3 separate regions of the Homo sapiens genome follow, and all the other regions are linked to region 1. The links are contacts of gene promoters, found by promoter capture Hi-C in human tissues and cell types (Jung and others, 2019). All regions are on one chromosome and are shown on one strand. Each heading gives the region's core, a stretch centred on a gene start or on the middle of the fragment in contact. The rest is flanking DNA. Distances are from core to core; before and after follow the strand shown. Region 1 holds the start of ID4 (inhibitor of DNA binding 4). Region 2 overlaps MIR548A1HG (MIR548A1 host gene). Region 3 has its middle 68 kb from the start of TRQ-CTG1-1.

Evidence for each region. Contacts are between HindIII fragments. The study calls those that stand out against the background at their distance.
Region 2: a contact is called between a fragment that was not itself captured here and the fragment with the promoter of ID4 in region 1, in 1 of the 25 tissues and cell types used here (lymphoblastoid cells).
Region 3: a fragment that was not itself captured here is called in contact with the fragment with the promoter of ID4 in region 1 in 1 of the 25 tissues and cell types used here (dorsolateral prefrontal cortex).

Annotation. Positions count from the first base shown.
Region 1 is chr6:19,833,633-19,838,662 of GRCh38, forward strand. It overlaps ID4 (inhibitor of DNA binding 4), which reads left to right and starts at 3,738. Exons shown (of 3, transcript NM_001546.4): 1 at 3,738-4,563; 2 at 4,952-5,010. The coding sequence starts at 4,123. The coding sequence ends at 4,996. The HindIII fragment of the contact is 7,095 bases long and covers 1-5,030 here.
Region 2 is chr6:18,660,725-18,665,754 of GRCh38, forward strand. The region is part of intron 4 of MIR548A1HG (MIR548A1 host gene); the gene reads left to right. Among named protein-coding and RNA genes, the nearest start is that of MIR548A1, 91 kb to the left of the region's middle. The HindIII fragment of the contact is 3,049 bases long and covers 484-3,532 here.
Region 3 is chr6:18,765,772-18,770,801 of GRCh38, forward strand. No RefSeq gene overlaps it. Among named protein-coding and RNA genes, the nearest start is that of TRQ-CTG1-1, 68 kb to the right of the region's middle. The HindIII fragment of the contact is 7,845 bases long and covers 1-5,030 here.

The DNA of each region.
Region 1 (5,030 bases), core at 2,488-4,987:
GTATCTCATAAACACCTTATGAAGTAAATGCAATTTTAATCATTCCAAATATGAAAGGTATAGGAATTTAAGAACCCAGCTGAATGATATAAAACTAATAAGCAAAGAGGCCAAAATTGGGGCTTAGGCTGTCTCACTTCAGAGTCCATGCTGTTTATATCTCCTAAGGTAAAAACAAATTCCACTTATTTCTCCCCATTTTTCTGTCTTTTAATCTAAGGGGGGCTTTCAAAAAGTCACTTCTTATTTAAACCAACTACCTTTAAAACTCCCCAAACAAGGCATTTTTGACAGCCACATCTGCCCAGCCATGTTCAACGTACAACGTCCTCTTCCTACAAGCCTTTTCCAGGACCTAGCAAACTAAGGGGTTATCAGCATTTCCGGGACTAGTATCAGCAATCCAAGGGTAGCACAAGTAATTTTGTAACACTTAGTGCCTGATAAAGCAGCCTTGAGCTTGAATTGCCACATTGCCCAACTTACTCTTTGGGAGCAAGGGACAGTCCTGCTGCAGAGTACATAGTGGTTTCTTATGCCCTCAAAGAATGCATGTGCCTCTTTCTGTGACGACAAATCTACAGAGTGACCAAGGCATTGGAACATTCACGTTTATCTGTGTATGAGTACACTCACTGTTTCCCTGGAGGCTATGGAGAAACAAGTATCAAGTCCTAAAAAGGCACTGGGAATGAAGAGCACAATATGCTTCCATACCCTTGCTTCATGTAAACACAGGGTGACTATGACTTCTAAAGGCCTGGGTGTTGCAGTTCAGTGAGGGCCTGATTTAGTAGCTAGAATACATCTCAGGGAGGACAGCAGACCTCTTTGTCTGGAGGAAGGGTGTATCCATGACTCTGGTCATCACGGCTTTCTAGCAATTCTCCTATGAATGTTTCATTCTAGGTTCCTACTGAGGTATATTTTGGGAGTCTCGAGCATTTCCATGACAAAAGGATTTGGGTTAGCCCATTTTACTTTTACAAGTGCAAGTGAAACACTTTGATGTAAAAGAGTCACCAACAGACTAAGTTACCTTCTCTGCACAGTAGAAATAACATAGCTTGTAAGGTTTATCCAAAATCTGAGTGATAATTGGGTAAACTGTTTTGAATTATCAGTGCCAGGAATCTTCCATGATTGCAGCTTTGATGTCATGTAAGTGTCTATGTCTAAGAATACAAAAACATACATTGCATAGCCCCTAGTACTCTCTGGTTTCATGGACCAAAACGTGCAGGATTGTATTCCTTATTCCCATAGTATATGGTAGCACTTTAATTTTTTAATGTCTTCATGCCTTCCAACCTTCAAAACAAGGAGCACAGTAACTGCCTCTGCCTACTCTGCTAGCAGGATTTACGGATCACATCTTTCCTGGGTATTCTTGATCTTGTGGCTGAGGTACATTCCTTTGAAACCACCTCTTCCACCCCACCCCACACAGAGTAACTCAGTCTTTCTAACTTTAAGCCAGTCACACAGAGCATCTCCAACAAAACCTGAAACTTAGGCATTTGGCGCTTGTCACACCCAAGGCATGGCTTTCTGAGATTTAGCAAATTCCAAAAAGGTCGATATGATTCTTCCTTTGTGTTACGTATTCAAAACTTAAATTTTAATTTTAATCGTTAGGATATGTAAAATGTTTAAATGTAAGTGTGTCCTGGGCATATTAGCATAGTTTTATTTTGCCAAACAGAGGAAAGTCTTGGGTTTTGAATTTGGAAGCAAATTTTAAACTCTAGGAAAGAGAAAGATCAATGGAACAAAACATCTGTACATATATCCATTTATTATTATCGTCTGTGCTCATATGACTGGCTCCAAGATAATAGCTTACAACCAGTAGTGCTGGCTTCACCGACTTCCCATTTAAAATTACAACATTTTCTCTGTATTTGCATTAATTTAATGATGTATATGACTATGCCTGTCTTTAGAAGAAAGCCCTTCTGAGTTTCATAATTCTGATTTTCTCGATTAATGTGTATGTAGACCATCTACGTATGCACATAAATAAATGAGAATGGCACTTGTTTCCAAACAATTATTAGAAGCAGTAACATACAAGGATTAGGGGAGAGGAGGGTTATTGCATCTACCTGTGAAACCAGAATTAAATAGTTGCTCCTCATTTCATCAGGAGAAAGGAATGTGCTCTGGGGAATAGTGCGATAGTCATAAAGCACTGACATAGCTAAACAAAATATCTGCCTGGTGCAGGTATTTCAGTTCTGGGAATGGATGTAGAAAAAGTCCATATAGGGGTAGACAGGAAGAAATGAGGTCCATGTCTCTTTCTTTCAATTATCTATGAAAATGAAGACACCAATCCATGTCATGTACACGAATGAAGAAAATTCTTGGGTTAATTCATCTCCAAGCGTGTCTAAAGGTGGGAGGGTTTGTAGAGTGAAGGCACTCAAAATTCATTTCCCCATTGTCTGAGAATTTTTATGCACCTTTCTCATCTGAAGGGCTCAATTTTTTCTTGAAGGGTACACACAATGCTCCACCAAAGCTCATTGTGCAATTTTATTTTGAACCCTTGAAGGACAGCTTTTCTCTAAGAAATCTAACACAAAAACGCCCTTAATTAACAGGCTTTTTTTTGCAGGGTGGGGCCCAAGCGGGATCCCAGAGACTGGAAGTGTGAATTTTAATGCTTTGCTGTCAAAGGAGGCGACTCTGGACATTCTCATCACCTTATTTAAAGCGGGGTACGCTGACTAATACGTGAAGCTGTGCATTAATGGCCTAAATTAAGTTACAGGTATGAATTTTACATAAAACAGATTAATATTATATGTCATAATGGAATTTTAAATATTCCGTGTCCATGCATTTTTAATCTTTACGTGCTCTAATTGAATGCGCAAGGCAACTGCATTTCTTGAGCCCACTTTTGCATTTAGATGGGGTAAAAGAACCCCCCCCACGTTTTTGTTTTATTTATATTCCCTTCACCAAAAACCTGCATTCGATTCGGCATTCTTTTCCTTCTTTTTTTTTCTACTTTTGCTAAGCTTTAGCATTTTTTAAAAAGAAAACGGAAAGGCTACACATTCCATTCCATCATTATGGTTTCGGCAAATGTGAAAAGGCGAATAATGAAACGGAGGAGGGAAATATAGAACAGAATGAACGTGCCTTCTTGAACAGCGCGTCTTTCTTAAGGCACTGGAATCCCACGGATGGAGTGATGGGTGGCGGAGGGTCCCTGGGCGCCGTGCTATTAGGAGTGGCAGGGTATCCGCGAGCAGGGCCCAGGCGCTCCCTCAGCAGCCTAGTCGGGATAAGGGGGGCGGTGGAGAGTGAATTCCGGCCGCACATTCCCGCAGTTCTTCGCAGGAACTTCGCTCTCTCTTTTCCCCTCCCTTGGGCACACATCAGCCTGGCCCGACTCCCACTCAGCTCTCTTTTCTCAGAACCCCGACCCACAGCGTTGACGGAATGGAGTGCCCTTCCCATTGGCCCGAGCGTCATTCCCCGAGGTGGCACTGCCCGCCTGATTGGCTGGCCACTCCAGACCCCCCGCCCACTCCTCCACTCGGGTAGCCGGACTCCCCGCCCCCCAGCACCGCCCGGAGCCCCCGCCCTCGCCTCTCCCTCCGCGCCCCCGCCCGCGCGCCCAGCGGGCTCCGCTCGGCTCGCGCTGCGACCCGGCCCGCGCGCTGGTCCCGCCCCCGGGGCGCACGGCTCTATAAATACAGCTGCGCGGCGGGCCGGGCGAGAGCGTAGTGGAGGAGGCGCGGTTGTGAGTAGTACCGGGAGTGGGGTGATCCCGGGCTAGGGGAGCGCGGCGGCCGCGATCGGGCTTAGTCGGAGCTCCGAAGGGAGTGACTAGGACACCCGGGTGGGCTACTTTTCTTCCGGTGCTTTTGCTTTTTTTTTCCTTTGGGCTCGGGCTGAGTGTCGCCCACTGAGCAAAGATTCCCTCGTAAAACCCAGAGCGACCCTCCCGTCAATTGTTGGGCTCGGGAGTGTCGCGGTGCCCCGAGCGCGCCGGGCGCGGAGGCAAAGGGAGCGGAGCCGGCCGCGGACGGGGCCCGGAGCTTGCCTGCCTCCCTCGCTCGCCCCAGCGGGTTCGCTCGCGTAGAGCGCAGGGCGCGCGCGATGAAGGCGGTGAGCCCGGTGCGCCCCTCGGGCCGCAAGGCGCCGTCGGGCTGCGGCGGCGGGGAGCTGGCGCTGCGCTGCCTGGCCGAGCACGGCCACAGCCTGGGTGGCTCCGCAGCCGCGGCGGCGGCGGCGGCGGCAGCGCGCTGTAAGGCGGCCGAGGCGGCGGCCGACGAGCCGGCGCTGTGCCTGCAGTGCGATATGAACGACTGCTATAGCCGCCTGCGGAGGCTGGTGCCCACCATCCCGCCCAACAAGAAAGTCAGCAAAGTGGAGATCCTGCAGCACGTTATCGACTACATCCTGGACCTGCAGCTGGCGCTGGAGACGCACCCGGCCCTGCTGAGGCAGCCACCACCGCCCGCGCCGCCACACCACCCGGCCGGGACCTGTCCAGCCGCGCCGCCGCGGACCCCGCTCACTGCGCTCAACACCGACCCGGTGAGAGGCCGGGCGCCGGCCGTGGGCGGACGCCGCGGGGGATGGGAGGTTGGTGGCGTGGTGGCGGGACGCGGGCGCTCACCGTCCTCCGGGCAGGGGCGGGCCAGGAATGACAGCCCCCTCCCCCTGCTCCTCCGGGCTCCCCCGGGCCGCCAGCAGCCGGCCGGGCTCGGCGAGCGCGGGTCCGGGAGAACGCGCAGGGCGGGACTCGGGGCTGTGGGCGCCCTGGGCTGTCAAGTCCCGCCTGAGCCCGGAGGGGCCCCCCCGGCTACAGGCTGGGGTGGGGGCGTCGGCGCGCCAGCCTGATTTCCGAGGACAATCCAGGACCGTGTCGAGCGCGTTGTTTGCGCCTGCTAACCTTTCCCTTGGTGTTCGGTTGCTGTTCCAGGCCGGCGCGGTGAACAAGCAGGGCGACAGCATTCTGTGCCGCTGAGCCGCGCTGTCCAGGTGAGCGCGCATTTCCCGTC
Region 2 (5,030 bases), core at 758-3,257, 1.2 Mb before region 1:
AAATCACAAGCATTCCTTTACACCAGCAATAGACAAACAGAGAGCCAAATCATGAATGAACTCCCATTCACAATCGCTACAAAGAGAATAAAATGTCTAAGAATACAGCTAATAAGAGATGTGAAAGAACTACAAACCACTGCTGAAGGAAATAAGAGAGGACACAAGCAAATGGAAAAACATTTCATCCTCACAGATAGGAAGAATCAATATCATGAAAATGGCCATAGTGCCCTAAGTAATTTATAGATTAAATGCTATTCCCATCAAACTATCATTGACATTTTTCACAGAATTAGAAAAAAACTACTTTAAATTTCATATGGAATCAAAGAAGACCTTGTATAGCCTAGACAATCCTAGGCAAAAATAACAAAACTGGAGGCATCTGACCTCGAACGATACTACAAGGCTACAGTAACCAAAACAGCATGATACTGGTACCAAAACAGACATATAGACGAATGGAACAGAACATAGACCTCAGAAATAACACCACACATCTACAACCATCTGATCTTCAACAAACCTACAAAAACAAGCAATGAGGAAAGGATCTTCTATTCAATAAATGGTTCTGGGAAAACTGGCTAGCCATATGCAGAAAGCTGAAACTAGACCCCTTCCTTACACCTTATACAAAAATTAACTGAGGATGGATTAAAGACTTAAATGTAAAACCCCAAACCATAAAAACCCTAGAAGAAAACCTAGGCAATACCACCAGGACATAGGCATGGGCAAAGACTTCATGATGAAAATGCCAAAAGGAATTGCAACAAAAGCCAAAATGGACAAATGGAATCTAATTAAAATAAAGAGCTTCTTCACAGCAAAAGAAACTATCATCAGCGTGAACAGGCAACCTACAGAACAGGAGAACATTTTTGCAATGTACTCATTTGACAAATGTCTTATATCCAGAATTTGCAAGGAACTTAAATTTACAAGAAGAAAACAACTCCATCAAAAAGTGGGCAAAGGATATGAACAGACACTTCTCAAAAGAAGATATTTATGCAGACAACAAACATTAAAAAATCCCCAACATCATTGATCATTAGAGAAATTCAAATCAAAACCACAATGAGATACCATCTCATGCCAGTCAGCATGGTGATTATTAAGAAGTCAAGAAACAATAGATGCTGGTGAGGCTGTGGAGAAATAGGAATGCTTTTACACTTTGGTGGGAATGTAAATTAGTTCAACCATTGTGGAAGACGGTATGGGGATTCCTCAAGGATCTCGAATCAGAAATACCATTTGACCCAGCAATCCCATTACTGGGTATATACTCAGAGGAATATAAATCATCCTACTATAAAGACACATGCACATGTATGTTTATTGCAGCACTGTTTATAATAGCAAAGTCATGGATGCCCAAATGCCCATCAATGATAGACTGGATAAAGAAAATGTGGTACATATTCACTATAGAATACTACACAGACATAAAAAGGAATGAGATCATGTCCTTTGCAGGGACATGGGTGAAGTTGGAAGCCATCATCCTCAGCAAACTAACAGAGGAACAGAAAACCAAACACTGCATGTTCTCGCTCATAAGTGGGAGTTGAGCAATGAGAACACATGGACACAGGGAGGGGAACATCACACACCAGGGCCTGAGGGTGTTGTGGGGTGGGGGCAGTGGGGAGGGAACTTAGAGGATGAGTCAATAGGTGCAGCAAACCACCACGGCACACGTATACCTATGTAACAAATCTGCACGTTCTGCACATGGATCCTGGAACTTAAAATAAAAAAAAAATAAATACAATAAAAAGTTTTCTTTATTCTTTTCACAAAGCAAAAAATGTTATAGAAGCCTCAATGTCTGAGTCTCTTGCTTGTCATATTGGTCTTGAAGAGACTCTCAATATACTGCCCAATTGCTTTTTTCAATATTAGTGGTTCCAGCACCTTAATTAGGAATTTTGCTTATAGATTTCATGATTCTTAGAAAAGGAACATGTTTTCCAGTTGAGAGGAAATGTGTCTTACAGCTGGTAGCTCAGCTGTACTAGGGAAGGTATTGTTATCTTGCCCAAAGCAAACTTCTAGGGCCATCTTTGTACCTTGGGGATGGGATAGCCAATGACTGGAAGCCAAGAAAGCAGAGGCAGGAGGAGCTACATTCAGCTTTTTCCAACCCTGGAAATCGGTCAACCCAGCCCAAGCATATTGTTGGTGTTTTATTAAAAGGGTTGATTTGGGGAATGTTGTGTTTGCCATGCAATGTCATGCCTCAAAGCCTTGGTTTCCAGCCTTTATTTATATGCTTAATTGTTGCTATGGAAATTCAATATTTAAAGAGGTAATTATTGCTGATCTTGTTGCATGTGTCCATTTCTGATGTCCAGCTGTTAGCTCTTTAGCTCCAGTCTAGCAGATTAATTACTGCTATTGATTACTTTGAGCTTCTCTCTTCACACCTGCAGTCTGTGTAATTAGCTGGTGGCCTCCTCTGAAAATTAGGAGCAGTTTCATTCTGGCACTTTGCCATTTCCCAGCCATGTGCACTGCACTGATGAACAAAAGCAAATCTATTTTAAATAGAGATATCTGGGTAATGAACTCTTTGTGTTTTTGAACTATCCGTGGATAATTCAAATTACCCTCTGTTAGCAAATATTGTACCTCATTTGATGACTATCTGCAAAGAAAAAAATTCCAAAACACTAGTTTTTATTCCCATTTCCACCTTGCAGAAATTTGCTCCTGTGTGTGGTTTAAAAAAATCAAAACAACTTTCTAATTCTGCTGCTGAGGGTATTGGGGTACTGAAATAGGCTTCCTAATGGAGCCCAGTGGAAGCAGCTGAGTTTGCACTCTGAGTATTGCAAACATCCAGGTATTAATGTGCATCCCTTCATTAGATTCACACTCCTAGTTTGAGAGACAAATCGCCATTCTTGGGAGTCACTGATATGCATTGGGAATAAAAAAGTTTCCTATTAAAAATGATTGAGTCAGAGACATGAGAGAGATATTTGATATTCTTCCCAACTTTGTTCCAGTTAATAAGATTTTTTTTTCCTCCCTGCTCACTGGAAACTGAATCTGGAAATGCCAAACATTCAAATCTAGAGTTCTGTGTCTGATGTCCTGTTTCGATACTTCCTCATCTGTCATGTGTTACTGCCTAAACACTCAGGAAATACAAGTTGGTGGTAGAATTGGGAGTGGACTTCCCAAGTAATGGTATGCAATGATTACTAACATGGCCAGCTGTTCCTTTCCATGCTGACAGGGTCCCACTAATGTTCCCTTTAGCTATTTAACTTGTGTTGAGTTATTATCCTAAGGGTTATTGCTTATTGTAGGAAAAAATAAAGTGTTTTCTTCCTGCCCATGGCATGCATCTGCCAGCTTTCATTTGAAGCTTTAAGTGAGTAAGTACGTCCCAAAGCCCACTCAGCGCATGGAAGGAAAAAAGTTCAGAAAGTTACCACTTGTCAGAATGATAAAAGTATCATTCCACTACCACAAGCACAAATGTGTTTAGTTGGATCACAGCAAACTGGGAATGTTCCATCAGCTCCAAGACAGCCTCTACGGAAGCAAAGAAAGATGACCTTCTGAGGTTCCAAGCAATCAGGTGGGCGATGGTATGCAGCAGAAAAGAGTAGAGAGATAAGGGGCACTCACTCGTCAACTCAATGAAGCTTTGGGGCATCTAATCGGGAGGCTGAACACCGGCCCTCAGACCAGAAGGTCCCCAGCTGGAATCTCATCATTTCCACCGCTTCCAGATTAAAATTTAAATTGTGTGCTGCCATTTGGAGGCCTTCTGGGCAGGGTCTCACAGAGTCACCAGTTATTAGGAATGCCTCCTATTATCACAACCCTAAAAGCTATTTGAACAGCAGCCTAATGTGATTGTGATTTCCAAGGACCATTTGCTGTTATTGCAGCTCTGCTCGGATGTGAGTGGGAGCGACTAACCAAAGTTGCCTTCTCATAGTACCAGAGAGGAGAATCAGAGGCACCAGAGAAAGATTTAACTGGCCATAAATGTAAATTCATCCCCAATAAACAATCTTTTGTTCCCCCCATTTAGGCAAGGTCATCTCTCATTCTGGCAAATAGCAATACTCTTTCCCGTACAAGAGTGTAAACTTTAGAAATTCATATTAATTATAATTTCAACTCCACTGGAAATATGAAAATTATGAAAACATAGTTTTAAAGAGGTACTATAGTAAAATACGAAGGGATAGTTTTACATAATATTCCATACTTATGGGTGATAGACAGGGATTTAAACATGTATGTAGTTTCTCTTTGAAGCCAATGCAAAAATTAAACACACTAACCTTATGAATATCTGAGGCTACGCACAGTATATGTGGTATAATGTTAGACATGCCACAGATCTCTGATGTATGGAGTTACTTCAGTCATTGGTTTTTCACCACCAGCAGAAGAAAAATGCAAAATATCTAGTTTAGTTTTTTAAACCTGATGTTTAAAACCAGCTAAGTATTTTTTTTTTTTTTGAGACGGGGTCTCACTCTGTTGCCTGGGGCGGAGTGCACTGGCGCGATCTCGGCTCACTGCAACCTCCGCCTCCTGGTTTCAAGCAATTCTCCTGCCTCAGCCTCCCGAGTAGCTGGGATTACAGGCTTGCACCACCACACCTGGCTAATTTTGTTTTTGTTTTTGTTTTTTGAGATGGAGTTTTGCTCTTGTTGCTCAGGCTGGAGTGCAATGGTGTGATCTTGGTTCACCACAACCTCTGCCTCCCGGGTTCAAGTGATTCTCCTGCCTCAGCCCCCCAAGTAGCTGGGATTACAGGCGCCGACCACTACTCCCAGCTAATATTTTGTATTTTTAGTGGAGACGTTGTTTCACCATGTTGGCCAGGCTGGTCTCCAACTCCTGACCTCATGATTCGCCCACCTCGGCCTCCCAACGTGCTGGGATTACAGATGTGAGCCACTGCGCCTGGCCAAAACCAGCCAAGTTTTTAAAAACATGATGAAGAATACGTGTGTGCATGTGTGTGTGTGTTCAAAGTT
Region 3 (5,030 bases), core at 1,197-3,696, 1.1 Mb before region 1:
TGCTTCATCCTGCTGCAGCCTCTTGCATTCAAACAAACAGGCCCAATTACTCTGAGTGCTCACATTGTTTAGACTCATAGAACAAATAAGCCTCCTAAATATATTTTTCACTAATTAAGTTTTTGTCTCTCATAGCATAACCTTGAAGCATATTCCCATTCAGGAAAATCTTCTCTTAGGAATGAGAATGAGGAAAAACAAAGGTGGTGAAGGTAATAGAAAATGTCATCCTGCCATGAGTTTGAATTTCCTTGTTGGGTAGGTGTTGGCTCAGTATTAAAAGGAAATACTGTGAATAGAGGGAAATTAGAATTGGAATTTTATTTTCGAACATAAAAACACTGCCATTAGCAACGTATACCTGAAATCAAAAAATGCAAACAGAACAGCAAAACAAAAAGCCTCAAAGAAACAAATAAACTAACAAAAAACAAAATAACAGCAAAATAACTCTGGAAAGCTAATGCCCAGGAAGCCAGACAAGAAGTTGGGAAGGATGGAGATTTGTATGGCTGGCGCTGGGGTATACTCAGTGAAACTGGCTCACACACATTGCTAGAGGCAGGGTAAAATCATTCAACGGTTTTGGAAAGCAACTTGAAAATGTGTACCAAAACTCATTACTGTGTTTGAACCTTTTACCTCAAGCATTCCACATCTGTGAGAGTAATCTAATTAAATACTAATTCAAAATATGGTAAAATACATCCATTGCTGTATAATTTATAATTGTGAAAAAAATGGAGTTAACTTGGATGTTCAGTAAAAAGTGAATAACTAAATAAACCCAATAGCATATTATGAAAGTATGAAAGATAATAATTGCAAAGTTGAAAACTCTTAGAAACATAGAAAGGTACCCTCGCAGACTGCATTGTCCAGGACGATGGCTACCGGTACCATGTGGCTTTGAGCACTGGAAACAGGTCTTGTCCAAATCGAGGTATGCTGTGAAAGCAAAAGACATTGGACACTGGATTTCAAAGACTTGATACAAAAAATGTTAAATATTTCATTAACAATTTTTTATTGATTACATGTTGAAATGATAATATTTTAGATATATTGGGTTAAATAAAATATAGTAGCAAAATTAATTTCAATCATTTCTTTAAAAATTTGAACTTGCATATTTGGCTTGCACTATATTTCTATTGAAAAGTGCTTGTCTAGACTATGAGCCCTTTGAAGACAGGGTTAACTCTTGGTCCATGGCTCCCAGTTTGTTCTCATCAATTGTTCTGTTAACCACCTGATGAATGAATGATTATAACATTGATTTTAAAATGTATGCAATTACATGTGCAGTAAGCTTACACCTATGTAAAATATTCATATTATAAAAGACAGAAGGTGATCTACAAAATTGAAGGTGTTGGTTGTCTTAGGATGGTGAGATTATGGGTCACTTTATTATTTTTCAAACTTTCTGTGGAATAATTTTCTTCTCATAATGTAAAGGATTTTTTTTTTTTTTAATGAAACCAGGACTTGTGAGGGTTTTTTGTTCGCTTGTTTATTTGTTTGTTGTGGGGATGGAAGGATACACATATGAATCATCTTCAAAGACTCCTGGCTGTGGCTGATTCCAGTGGTCTCTCTAATGTGGGGGAGGACATACCTTATATAGGGCCTGGAGGGGTGATTCTTGAGTGTTGTAGCACACCATGGCTAACAGCAGCCTGCTGTTGGTGCTGGGCAGAAATCTCTTTGGCCCAGAGCAAGCAATGAAGATTTTATATTCTTCATCTTCTGCAAGGAGCTGCAGTTGTTTCTCAAGGTCAGGTCAGAGAGCATCCTGAGGATGAGGAATAACAGTCCTCGAAGGGCTTTCCATCTTGGCAACGGTTCATACCCATGTAAAGCTGATAACAAAATAATTCCAAAATAAACAAACAGTGGGTGCCTAAGTGCCCTCAGAGATCAGTAAATCTGAGCACATGTAAGCTGCCAGTGTGAGAAGCAGATAAAACCTCCTTCTAACATCCCGATGCACTAAAGCAGATGGAAACACCATATCAGGGTGCCTAGACAAACAAAACAAGACAAAAACTTTCTTTGCCTAGAAAAGCAAACTAGCTCTTACACCAAGGCAGAGCGAAAGTCCTGACCATTTAACAAATTCTAGACTGTGACAAATTTAATTGATTCAACAGAGATTTATTGACACCCTATTTGTGTTCTAGGTATGGTTTTCAAGGCTAGATACAGCAGTAAGCAATGCTTGCAAAATTCCATGCCTTCCCTTTATTTATGTTCTTGAGGGATAAATCAAGTCAATAAACAAATGTGTAATTTAATATATAGCATGTAAGATGACTATAAATACTAAGGAAAAAATAAAGCAGAGAATGAGGGTACAGGACAGTTGTGGAAGAGTAAGCTGCAATTTTAGAGTGGGTGGCTCAATATTTGAGTGAAGAAAACTTGAAGGAGGTGAGGAAATAAAACATGTAGATTTTTGATAGAAAAACATTTCAAGAAAGGAAACAGCAATTGTAGAGCCTTGAAGTAGGAGCTTGCCTGGCATGTTTGAAGAACAACAAAAAATCACTGAGACTTAAGGAAAAGTTGGGTGCAGTGGCTCACGCCAGTAATCCCCAGCACTTTGGGAGGCTGAGGTGGGTGGATCACCTTAGCTCAGGAGCTCAACATCAGCCTGGGCAACCTGGTGAAATCCCCGTCTCTATTAAAAAAATACAAAAATTAGCCAGGTGTGATAGTATGCACTTGCAGTCTCAGCTACTGGGGAGGCTGAGGTGGGAGGATCACTTGAGCCCAGGAGGTGTAGGTTGCATTGAGCTGAGGTTGCACCACCTCACTCTAGCCTGGGCAATGGAGCAAGGCCCTGTCAAAAAAAAAAAAAGGAAAGGAAGGAAGGAAGGAAAGAAGGAAGGAAAGAAGGAAGGAAAAGAAAGAGAGAGAGAAAGAGAGAAGGAAGGAAGGAAAGAGAGAGAGAAAAAAGAAAGAAAGAAGAAAGAAAGAAAGAAAAAAAGGCTGGGCACAGTGGCTCACGCCTGTAATCTCAGCACTTTGGGAGGCCTGGGCGGGTGGATTGCCTGAGCTCAGGAGTTTGCGACCAGACTGAGCAACACGGTGAAACCCTGTCTCTACTAAAATACAAAAAAATTAGCCAGGCATGGCAGCGTGTGCCTGTGGACCCAGCTACTTGGGAGGCGGAGGCAGGAGAATTGCTTGAATCGGGGAGGAGAAGGTTGCAGTGAGCCGAGATCATGCCACTGCACTCCTACCTGGGCGACACAGCAAGACTCCATCTCAAAAAAAAAAAAAAAAAAAAGAAAAAAAAGAAAAGAAAAGAAAGAAAGGGAAAAAAAGGGCAGGTAGGCAAAGGGGAAGTCAGACTTGTGGGGCCTGATTGTGCAGTGTTTTAGGGGATTACCAGGACTTTTGGCTTTTACTGAGTGAAATGGGAAGATTACAGGATTTTGAGCATGAAAATGAGATGATTAACCTACACTTTAAGCATCTGAGTTCAGAATATTAAACTTGAAAATCAGTTTGGAAGTTTTTGCAATAAAAAAGTTACGAAGATCTAATGGCAAATGTAATCAGCGGTTTAGGTTCTGGGTATGACTTAATGGTAGATCTGATTGGCTTTTTTGACTGGCTGGATATAGGGTATGAACAAAGTAGAGGAACTGATGATGATGATGCCAGATACTTTCACCCAACTTAGTGGGAGGATGGATTTTACCATTTACTGGTCATACAAAGTGCTGGCGAGGATGTGGAGGAACTGGAACTCACACGCTTCTCGTGGGAATGTAAAATGGCACAACCACTATGAAAACCACTTTGGTAATTTCTTCTACATTTAAAACATATGTTTACTATATGACCAATCATTTCATGCCTAAATATTTACCAAAGTGAAATGAAAACTTATGTTCACACAAAAACCTGCATGTTAACATTTACAGCCGTATTATATTTAATCACAAAAACGTGGAAACACCCCAAAAGTCCCTCTCCCCAGGGATGAATTAACAAACTGTATTACATCAACACATTGAAATACTGTTAAGCAATAAAAAGGAGCAAATTACTGATTAGCATAAAAACATGGATGGTCAGTGAAAGAAGCCTGATTCAAGAAGGCTTTATGCCGTATAATTCCATTTATATGATATTCTGAAAAAGGCAAGACCATAGAGGTAGAACACGAACCAGTAATTGCCAGAGATGGTGGTGAGAGGGGGAAATTTGACTATAAAGGGGTGAAGGGGAATATTTTAAGGGGGATGGAAGCATTCTATAGCTTGATTGTGGTGATGGTTACAAGTCTGTATGCACCTGTCAAAACTTGCAGATGTATACAACAAAAAGGGCAACTTATATAGTACATAAATTATGGCTTAATTTTTTTTTTTTTTTTTGAGATGGAGTCTCACTCTGTAGCCCAGGCTGGAGTGCAGTGGCTCGATCTCAGCTCACTGGAAGCTCTGCCTCCCAGGTTCATGCCATTCTCCTGCCTCAGCCTCCCAAGTAGCTGGGACTACAGGTGCCCGCCACCACGCCTGGCTAATTTTTTGTATTTTTAGTAGAGATGGGGTTTCACCGTGTTAGCCAGGATGGTCTTGATCTCCTGACCTCGTGATCCACCCGCCTCCACCTCCCAGTGTGCTGGGATTACAGGCGTGAGCCACTGTGCCCGGCTGGCTTAATTTAAAAATAGTAAAAAAGGGAAGTAAAATTATGAGGGATATTTTTAGGTGAGAGAAATAATATCAAGGTGGAGTGTGAATGGGAAAGAAGTGGTAGAATGGGAAAAAGTAATGTTGCAAGAGGAAGAGGAGGGGATTGAGCAGTGACCTGGAACAGGTTAGAAAGGATAGGAGCTCATAAACAGGTGGAGGGGATGGCCTCTGTGGGGACTTGCCAGGGGTAGTTCACCCAGTATAGTGAGACAGAAGGCAGTGGGTATGGGTAGAGAGGATAAAGGCAGAGGTATAATTTTATAGTAGATGCGATAGTGCTGGGGGCTTTCCATTGTTTTCCTTGAACTTTGA